Linked DNA regions of Homo sapiens: all the other regions are linked to region 3. Evidence: promoter capture Hi-C in 16 types of primary human blood cells and fetal thymus (Javierre and others, 2016). All regions are on one chromosome and are shown on one strand. The core of a region is centred on a gene start or on the middle of the fragment in contact, and the rest is flanking DNA. Distances in the headings are between cores, read along the strand shown. Region 1 overlaps MRAP2 (melanocortin 2 receptor accessory protein 2). Region 2 overlaps CEP162 (centrosomal protein 162). Region 3 holds the start of SNAP91 (synaptosome associated protein 91).

Region 1 (3,380 bases), core at 645-3,144, 350 kb before region 3:
AATCAGAATAGATTCAGAGAGACTCTGGGCTGCCTCATGGTTGGTTAAGATTTAGGGACAGAAAAAGGAAAATGATGTACAGAAAAAAGAAGCAAGGTACGGAAACAGCTGGATTTGAACACCATTTGAACAGCTGTCTGCCTGGGAGTGCCTGAAGTGTAGCTGCTGTGATTAGCTGAGACTGAGCTATTGTTACAGAAGCATTGGCTAGGTTTTCAGTTTGCTTACCTAGTAAGCTAGGTCACAGCTCATACCTAAGAATGCAAGTATGCAAATAATGGAGGCCTTCTTGGGCCAAATTTTAGTTTAACAACTCAATTGGTTAGCATCTCAATTAGGTAGCAACTTTGCATTCTCACTTACGTTCACCATGGATAATTCAGGCTCTCATTACTTCTTGCAGAGAACATACAGATGGCCTCTTGAGTGCTCTCTCTGCCTTCTGCCTTTCCCTGTGCTTTATTTCTGTACAAACCTGCTTTAATCACAGCCCTGATGATATTGCTCTTTCATGAAAAGCTCTCCAACAAAAACAGAACTGACCCACTTTTCCAGAGTAAAAGAGATTCCACACATAAAGCACTTTATACAATGTCTGACATCTGAGAAAACAGTACACCACAGGTGCTGGCTACTGTCATTAGAATTGTCATTTTCTCCCAATTTACCACTTTAAAAGCCATGTGTTTCCAATCAAACTAGGGGACACTGTGTCCCTGTATTTACCTTAGCCACAGCTTCCTCACAGCCACACCTTACCAGGGCTCTTACCACTACCTGGCTGGAACAACTTTTCCCAACGTGGAGCTAATGAAAGTGTATCCATCCTTCCAAGTCCATCCGCTACACTATCTACTAAGCCTCAACTAATTTCCATAATTGATGTGTTGTCTCCCTCCTTTGAACCCAATAACATTTTTGTCTGTAATTCCCTAAACAGGGCTCTCCTTGGTCCTATCTTGGATAACAATCACAATTCTTTATCTCTAGGACCAGGGTTAGATTGGATTGTCTACAGAACTTGGTACTTGCACAATAAGGCCTCAAATCTAGGACACAACAGAGTTGAATCATTCTACATTTTTTGGCCTACACTAAGAAGCTTGTCTATGTGGAAATACAATGAGGATGCTTAGCAATTTTCTAAAAATAAGTGATTAGAGCTTAAATATTAAATGTGTTTAAATGCAAAGCTTTATTCTAATTAAATTATGTATATGTAGCACTTTTTCCAAAGTGAAGAAATCAGATTAACAATTTACTCTGCATAATTCATACTTTCATCCTACATATACTATTGCCTAGAGGTTAACAATGTGTATTCAGCACTCTGAAAAACTAATGTGTCTAACCTTAAGTGCCAAAGAAATAGAAATTGTATACTTTGCCTTTTAATATAGTAGAAATGAGGCATAAAAAAAGACATAAGGGCCAGGCGCAGTGGCTCACGCCTGTAATCCCAGCACTTTGGGAGGCCGAGGCGGGCAGATCACGAGGTCAGGAGATCAAAACCATCCTGGCTAAGACAGTGAAACCCCGTCTCTACTAAAAATACAAAAAAAAAAAAAAAAAAAATTAGCCGGGTGTGGTGGCAGGCGCCTGTAGTCCCAGCTACTCGGGAGGCTGAGGCAGGAGAATGGCGTGAACCCGGCAGGTGGAGCTTGCAGTGAGCCAAGATCGCGCCACAGCACTGCAGCCTGGGTGACAGAGCAAGACTCCGTCTCAAAAAAAAAAAAAGATGTAAGGACAAATACCAAACACCACATGTACTGAGGTACAACTAACATGAAACAATTAAATCTCAACTATCTAGGCATGGACTGTGAAGAAACATTGTACAGATAAATAACAGTTCCCTACACTGTACTTTATCAACTGCCTGCATAGCAAAAGCAAATTCTAAAATTATACACCAATGCTATATTTAAGTCTTCGGTTTAGAATTGAATCATGTTGATTGACATTTTTCAAATCTGTGTATTAGGAAGGTGTTCTCCTAAGGACAGCTTTCACACTGCAAATGGTGGACTGACTCCCAGAGGTGGAGGAAAGCGTGCCCTCAACCCAGCCCAGTCCCCCTTCCCTCTGCCCTTCTAAGTACCCCCAGGGAGATAATCAAAAAGCAGCAATAATGTGAAGCATGGGAGGGTTACAGCCTTCAGAGAAGGCAGGTGGCGGCAGAGTTGGGGAGAGGCAGGCTGTGGGTAAAATCTGAGAATCCTCATGATCCAACAGCATTTCCAAACATTTCCTTAATAATGCGGCATCTATGTTTTTCATGGCAATATGCTTTAAGTAGCTCTGCTTATTCACATTTCCCTTTGAACAAAATTTAGCTTCCTCAAGTTATTTCCACTAATTTCCCCCAACCTCATCTTCTGCCCTATGACCCATCCCCAGGGGATTTTCTCACCCTGAGCCTCTTACAAGAAACATCAGAGATCCCCATCTCATCCCAGAAATATCCAAACTCTCCTGAAGTTTTATTCACATGTAAGTTTCATGGGCATAGGCACTACAGTAAGATGGGAAAAGTGGAGCCCGTTGTCTTCCCAAAAGCATCCTTTTCTGGGAAGAAGTCAGAATAAAGCTTTATACAGAGCAAAGCTCCAATGAGGCTAGATGGTTAAGAAAGTCAAAAGAAGCCTTCCAAACGAGTTTCCACCACCGCCAAGCTACCACACTCTGTCCTGTCTAGACACTGAGCTACTTAGAGACTACTATTGTAAAGGGGTAGAACAATTGCCCAGGGGAATTGCAAATGGAATGCGTCAGAATAAAGTAACCCCCCTTAACCTAACCTTTAATGAATGGAATGGAACAAGAGAGCTGAAAGTTGACATGATTTTTTTCCTTCCCAATCTAGGGTAGGACTAGGTTAACTACTCCATCCGACTCACCCTCCTCTCCACCTCCTGAGAATAAATGGTGAACTTTCCACTTCGTGGTTATATGAAAAACAAGGGTTAATACTTCACTTGAAAGAGAGGTTCATGACACTTTCCTCACACCACTTTTTGTTCCTAAGGCAGTAGGGCCAATTCTGTGATATGAATTCCTGGCAAAGAGCCAACAGTGATGTTCCCACACTTGTCTCTACTATCTTACTCCAAGCCTTTGCAAACTCTAGCTGTTTCTCATCCTAATGACCTGGCTTCTTGCTGACCCATCCATGCATGGGTCTGGTATCTGCAAGGTGGCACACGAAAAAGCATGAATTTGGCCACCACTGATAGCTCAAATTAAGAGGCTATTCCTTTAGTCTTTTCTCAACACAGCGGCCAGAGTGGTCCTGCTAAAATGTGATTGTCCACTCATTGACTCATCAGCTTTTGCTTCTGATGCTTTAAGAACACCCTGTCTCACCCAGCCACACTCTT
Region 2 (3,353 bases), core at 766-3,265, 450 kb before region 3:
CCTTTCAATCCTAGTAGTGGAATTGCTGGATCAAGTGGTTCTCTTTTTAGGTCTTAAGAAATCTCCACACTGTTTTCCATAATGGTTTTACTAATTTATACTCCCACCAACAGTGTACACGTGTTCCCTTTTCTCCACATCCTCGCTAACGTCTGCTGTTTATTAACTTTCTAATAATAACCCTTATGACTGGAGTAAGATGGTACCTCATTGTGGTTTTAATTTGCATTTATTTGGTGATTAGTGAGGTTGAGCATTTTTTCATATTTTTTGGCCACTTGTATGTCTTTTGAAAAATGTGTGTTCGTGTCCTTTGCCCACTTTTTAATGGGGTTATTTAATTAAGTCCCATTTGTTTATTTTTGGTTTTGTTGCATTTGCTTTTGGAGACTTGGTCATAAATCCTTTGCCTGGGCCAGTGTTCAAAAGTGTTTTTCTTAGAATTTTTTCTAGGATTTTTATAGTTTCAGGTCTTAGATCTTTAAAGCATCTTGAGTTTATTTTTGTATAAAGTGAGAGGTGTGAGTTCAGTTTCATTCTTTTGCACATGACAATCCATTTTTCCCAGCACCATTTATTGAATAGGGTGTCCTTTCCCTAGTGTATTTTTTTGGTGACTTTGTCCAAGATCAGTTGATTGTAGGCATGTGGCTTAATTTTTGGGTTCTCTATTCTGTTCCATTGATCTATGTGTCTATTTTTATCAGTACTGTGCTGTTTTGGCTGCTATAGCCTCGTAGTACAATTTGAAGTCAGGTAGTGTGATACCTCCAGCTTTGTTCTTTTTGCTTAGGATTGCTTTGGCTATTCAGCCTCTTTTTTGGTTCCGTATGAATTGTAGGATTGGTTTTTCTAATTCTGTGAAAAATGACTTTGGTAATTTGATAGGGATTGAATTGAATTTGTAGATTGCTTTAGGCAGTATGGTCATTTTAACTACACTAATCCTTCCAGTCTATGCACATGGGATGTTTTTCTATTTGTTTGTGTCACGGTTTTCTTTATCAGTGTTTGTAGTTCTCCTGGCAAACATCCTTCACCTTCTTGGTTAAATATATTCCTAGGTAGTTCTTGATTTGGTCCTCAGCAAGATTGTTATTGGTATATAGAAATGCTACTGTATACAGAGATTTCTGTAGATTGTATCCTGAAACTTTACTGAATTCATTTATTAAATCTAAGTGTTCTTTGGTGGAAAATATGTTTTAATAGGTTAAGGAAATGGAAGGGATTCTGAAGAGAAGATATCCCAATTCTTTACCTGCTTTAATATTGGCTGCATCAGCAGCTGGTGATACAGTGGATAAAAATACAGTGGAATTTATGGAGAAAAGGATAAAAAAGCTAGAAGCTGATCTGGAGGGCAAAGATGAAGATGCAAAGAAAAGCCTTCGTACCATGGAACAACAGTTTCAGAAAATGAAGGTAAGTGGTAAGTAGCCTCAGAGATAAAGGTCAGAGATGAACAATGGGGGCAGGCACTTCTTAGGATCTCACTTTAACAAATAGCTATAAACATTCTTTCCCATGAAACCTTTACCACTGGTATCAATAGGTGCAAAAGAAACCAAGTGCATCCTATTTTGGTGTCGTCTTTCAGCAACTTTTCTATTTCTGACAGAGTAATCAAGCACAGGATAATCTTTACATCATCTCTCTCAATATGAGAATTAGTGGAAATTAAGTCATGAAAAAGCAGAATAAAACACACCTGATATGTATCCAGTACAAAAGGAAAAAAGAAATTACCATGTTTGAAAATATTTTCACTGAAATTTATCTAGAGAAGGGTAAGGGAATAAGACAGAAGTATACATTTTAGGAACAGCGGGTAGGGGAGCATCTTCCAGAAATGTCTTACTTTCTGAGTTTTCCATTATTTTGTGAAACAGGAATGAATCAGAAAATACAAGTGCTAGAACAGACCAAGTATGAAACAGGACATATTTAATTTACTTTAAAAAAAATTTTGTAGACAAATAACAGTTATAGATTATTTTTAAAAATTTGTTGAGCACGTGTCTGTCAGGAATTCATGCTAGATACTTTCATAAATATCTCTGTTCATCTTGCATAATCCTTCCAAACACCTGTGAGGAGTAGATACTGTTAACACTATTTTGCAGATGAAGGAGCTGAGATGTTCTAGGAAGCTCATTTCATTTCCCACATATTTATATCCCGAGAAAAGCAACAAATGACAGAACATTAGATTCCAGAAACAGTAGAAGGTTGATAACCTGGAAATACAGTGGCCTGTTAATTAAGGTCACATCAAGGAGGTTGGGTTTCTTCTATTCCACCCTGTTTTACAGATAGATACATAGATAGATAGATAGATAGGTAGATAGATAGATAGATAGACAGACAGACAGACAGACAGACAGACAGATAGATAGATAGATAGATATCCCTGATAACATGTCTGGAGTCTAGCAAACAATTAATGATTATAATTATTATTAGTGTTCCACCAACTAAATAAGACTGTCAGGTGTAAACTCCAACCCGCTACTGCACTTTTATGTATCTAAATCTAAACACCCTAACTTGTTTCTTTTTGCAGCCCCCTGCCCCATCCCACTCCTGCCTTTGCTTACTACTTGTCTCTTCCCCCTTTCATTTCTGATTCCCTGTATATACCAAACATTCAGCCAGCTTTGCATATGCTCTTCCTACTTCCAAAACATCCCTGACTCCACCTAACCCCAAATTAACAGTCATCTCTCAAGACCGAACATAAATGTGCTATCTCTGTGCAGTCTTCCCACCTTCTGTCAAGCCTCCAGACACTTAGGGCAGCGTCGCCTCCTCTGCACTCACTGCACTATGTTCACAGGCCCATTATTTTACTTGTGGGACGTTGTAGCTGCTGCCATGTTGCTCTCCTCACCAAGCTGTGAGCTATTTGAAAATAATAACTGAGTCTTTTTGTTGCTAGAACCTGCATGTTGCTTGGCATAAGGTCATAACTTGGTAAATATCCATTGAATGAATGAGCAAACACTGCTCGTGCCTCCCTCCGTAGGAGAAATTATTTATTTCATTTGCTGAATACTAAACAAAATATTAAAGCTCCAGTATACAAATTCCAGGCCATTTTACTCTCTATGAAAGTAATAAATTGATGTTAGAAGGTTGAAAATGTGCTGTTTCCCGAAGACTTCAGTGCCCCCAGTTGCTTTACTGTTTATCCTCGAAGAGTGTGTTGACAGTTTGCATGGAGAAGACTGCATAATAATAGGTTTTATTGTGAGATTTAAAATAAATTTTGGAGTGTGTAAGAACATATGTAAGTTAATAGTTATGAAGCAACATATCAATTATTAAATAACATAACATATATCAAGAAT
Region 3 (3,676 bases), core at 803-3,302:
AAGTGCTGGGATTACAAGCATGAGCCAACCGCGTCCGGCCTACAGGGCTATTTCAAGTCATCTATACCCTTACAGGTTTCCTGTCTACTTGTCCTATTTATTACATAGAGAAAAGTGCTGAAATCCTGAAGTATAATTGTGGATTTGCCTGTTTCTCCTTTTAATGCTATTAGGTTTTGCTTCGTCCTACTTTGAAGCTCTGTTCTTAGATATACAAACAAGTAGAATTGTTCCATGCTCTTAATGAATTTTTCATTATGAAATGTGCCTGTTTATTGCTATTAATATTCCTTATTGTAAAACCTACTTTGATATTAATATTGCCACTCCCAACTCTATCAGATTATATTGAGGTATAATTAACAAACAACAAAATTCGCCAATTTTAAGTGTACAAATTGATGAGTTTTGAGAAATACATGCAGCTGTATAATCATCATCACCGTCACGATATAAAACATTTCCATCTCTCCAAAAAGTTTCCTTCTGCCCCTTTGCAGTCCCCTCCCCCAATGCCACCGTCACCTGACTCGGCACCTGATGTGTTTTCTGTTTCTATAGTTTTGACTTTTCCAGAATGTTACATAAATGAAATCAAAATAATAAGTAGAATTTTTGATAGAGCTTCTTTCCCTTCGTCTAATGAATTTGAGATTCATGAATGGTATTAGTTTGTTTCTTGTTATTGCTAAGTAGTATTCCATTATGTGGATATACCATATTTTGTTTATTCATTTACTAGTAGAATAACATTTGGCTTTCCTCCAGTTTGGGGCCATTATATTAAGCTGCTATAAAACTGGAGTACAAGTTTTTTTAATAGAATTGCGTTTTTATTTCCCTTGTAAATATGGTAAGACTAGTACTTGAGACAATAGTGCTCTTAAGCTGTCTCTCTTTAGTCATTAAGCTTCCAATTAGTCCTAGAATCAGTCTCAGTAGTTAGGAAATCATGACTGCATACTGAACACTGTACCAGGTGAAAGAGAGGAATATATAACAAAACGTTGAGATCGATAGGTATCGATATATGGCTTCAAGGCCGAGCAGAAGCCACCCGAAGCAAGGAGAAAAAATGCCAGGAAAGCTCACAAATATAGTTTTGATCTTCATGCTACTGTGAGAATTAAAAAAAAAGGTGAACATAAATAACAACCTTTGAAAATGTCAACACGTGAAGCTATTAACCAACTCCACATCCCTGTTTAGAAATTCCTGCTTACTATTCGAATATACACTTGACATACAATTGACGGACGTTCCAACACTATATTTAATTGGCAGAAATTACTTCTTAAGGGTACAAAGGGTTTTCTTTATGCACGCAAATGATTACTGTCGAAGGTAATCTGGGACTCGATTAACGGCTGTGTTAATTATTCTCCCTTCAGCAGACCTCAGTATCCGTTTAAGACTAAAGTGGCTAGAATTACCTGCCCACCCGGGCTCCCAGTTGTAACTGAGACAAGCGGAGGAGCCTGAGGAGCTGAAGACGCACAGGTGACGGTCGCGGATGGCCGGCAGGATCTGACATTTAAAATCGCCCTGCTCATCTGGGCCTCGGAGCCTTTGACAGGCGGGCGTGTCAGCGACAGTGTGGGGAAGGGGCTGGGCTCCGCCAGGCAGCGCGCGACGACGCCCTTGCCTTGGCCTTCACAGAGTAGAACCCGAGAAGCCCACTCGCCCGTCTTGGCCAACGCCCCCAACGCCCAGGGCTCCCCCCGCAGTCGGCGGGCAGGTGTGCGTGGTGCGCGAGCCCAGTGCGTGCCGGGTGCGGCGCCAGCAGCGGAGGGGCGGCCCGGCGCCCAGCGGAGAGCCGCTGGCTGGGTGGGTGTCGGCCTCCCCGCCTCCTTCTTCTCCCCGCCGGCTTGCCGGGGATGCTTGCGCGAGGCGCCCCCTCGCCTTTAAGCTCCCGGCCCCGGGGGGCGGTGTGTGTGAGTAGCTGGGAGGGGGCCGCGAGGCGCTCCGCCGAGGGCTCGTCCGGGTTTGTCCGCCGCCGTCACCTGACTCGTCGGAGGAGCCACAGCTGAGGTGGGGGCGGGGATGGGGACGCAGCTCGGAGCGCTAGAGAGACGCGGCGGCGCTGGCAGAAGAGGCGGCGGCGGGCGGGTACTGGCTTCTGGGGCCAGGGGCCAGGGGCGGTGGGCGCCGGGACCGCGGAGCTGAGGAGCGGGGCCCGGCCAGGGCTGGAGACTTTGCGCCCGGGGGCACCGGGGCTACGCGCGGTCGCACACATCCACCGGCGCGGCTTCCCTCGGCGGCCCGGGCTCCGCTCATCCTGCGGCGGGCGGCGCCGCTCAGGGGCGGGGTGAGTACCCGCGGCCGTACTCGGCCCCCTCCCCGCGCCAGGGTCTCGCGGGGATCCGCAGAGGATAATCCCAGGGTGCGGAGAAGGGCAGCGGCCGAGTGACAGCTCCGCGGAGCGCTCCAGGGCGGGCGGGGGACTGGGCTTCGCTGTCAGCCCGGCTCCTCTCCAAAGCCAGGAAGGGTGAGGCGCCCCAAGACTCCGGCGCCTCCGCAGAGCTCCCGGGCGGCCCCTGCGGCAGGGATTTGGAACCGGGGGGAAGGGGCCCGGGCGATGGGCCTCGGCGAGGCTTTGGAGCCGGCGGCGAGGAAGGAAGGGGAGGCGAGGGCATAACATGGCGCAACGCTAGGATAATCTCCTTCGCGACTGAGGGAGGACGAGCCCTTTGCTGCAGCAGCGCGAGGAGGAGGAGGGAGGCAGCCAGGGCTTGGGTATCCGATGCATTCCCCGAAGCCTGCGGGCTGCTAGGAGGAAAGTCTGCTGAGGTGGGAGATGGGCACCGGTGGGTGCGGCGCCCAGGGAATAACCCCAACGCACGTTGTGGCTAGTCCAGCACCCGCGGGTCAGGTTGCGGGGAAAGTGCTGATTGACAGGGGGGTCCCCAGGGGGTGAGTCTGGCCCTATGTGGGGGCCGGGGGAGAATGGGGACGGTGTCACGATGCTGCGACTGGAGCCCACGCTGGGGTTCCGTGACGGCCCTACTCACGGCCAAGACTCCCTGGACCGCATCGCAGGAGCGGGGCTTGGCGCGTTGCTGGCTCCGAGAGGTGGTGCCAGGGTGGGGATGGAGGAGGAGAGAGCCGCCGCGCGGCTGGAGGAGGCAAGGCCTGGGTGCTTGGAGGGTAGGGTCTGCGGATTAAAGCCGGACCGTCTCCCCTTGTTTCCTGCAGAAGAGGAGGCGGTAGACGCGACCACAGAAGATGTCGGGCCAAACGCTCACGGATCGGATCGCCGCCGCTCAGTACAGCGTTACAGGCTCTGCTGTAGCAAGAGCGGTCTGCAAAGCCACTACTCATGAAGTAATGGGCCCCAAGAAAAAGCACCTGGACTGTAAGCATCTCTTTATATAAGAGGGACATGCGCACGGCAGAGGCGCCTGGGATGCTGGTGGTGCGGCCTGCGCTCTTGGTCCATAATGCTGTGGCCTCTGATACTCCCAGCCAGGTTGCCCCTGAGCTGAAATTCTTCAGCTGTGAAGGTGTTCCCTTGGGTTAGCCATGAAACCTTGTCTTGTGAGCCATTTTTTCCTCTTATTGACCTCCAAGGTCTTGGTGGAGGGGGAAAAATACACACACACACACACACACACACGCATATGTATATACACACACACAAGAGAGAGATTGTACACACTGAATTAGATGTTTTTCA

The links. The method cuts DNA at HindIII sites, captures the fragments that hold promoters and counts their contacts. A CHiCAGO score of 5 or more calls a contact.
Region 1: a fragment that was not itself captured here is called in contact with the fragment with the promoter of SNAP91 in region 3 in 1 of 17 cell types (neutrophils); the score reaches 5.3 in neutrophils.
Region 2: a fragment that was not itself captured here is called in contact with the fragment with the promoter of SNAP91 in region 3 in 1 of 17 cell types (neutrophils); the score reaches 5.3 in neutrophils.

The regions. Positions count from the first base shown.
Region 1 is chr6:84,059,048-84,062,427 of GRCh38, reverse strand. All of the region lies in intron 2 of MRAP2 (melanocortin 2 receptor accessory protein 2), which reads right to left. Among named protein-coding and RNA genes, the nearest start is that of MRAP2, 27 kb to the right of the region's middle. The HindIII fragment of the contact is 1,397 bases long and covers 1,196-2,592 here.
Region 2 is chr6:84,153,370-84,156,722 of GRCh38, reverse strand. It overlaps CEP162 (centrosomal protein 162), which reads left to right. Exons shown (of 27, transcript NM_014895.4): 22 at 1,213-1,425. Among named protein-coding and RNA genes, the nearest start is that of CEP162, 73 kb to the left of the region's middle. The HindIII fragment of the contact is 7,858 bases long and covers 1-3,353 here.
Region 3 is chr6:83,707,477-83,711,152 of GRCh38, reverse strand. SNAP91 (synaptosome associated protein 91) reads left to right here and starts at 2,052. Exons shown (of 30, transcript NM_001242792.2): 1 at 2,052-2,308; 2 at 3,196-3,355. The coding sequence starts at 3,226. It overlaps LOC105377879 (a long non-coding RNA gene), which reads right to left and starts at 1,711. Exons shown (of 3, transcript NR_136251.1): 1 at 1,434-1,711. RefSeq lists silencers at 1,780-1,839, 2,170-2,379, 2,789-3,083. The HindIII fragment of the contact is 3,637 bases long and covers 913-3,676 here.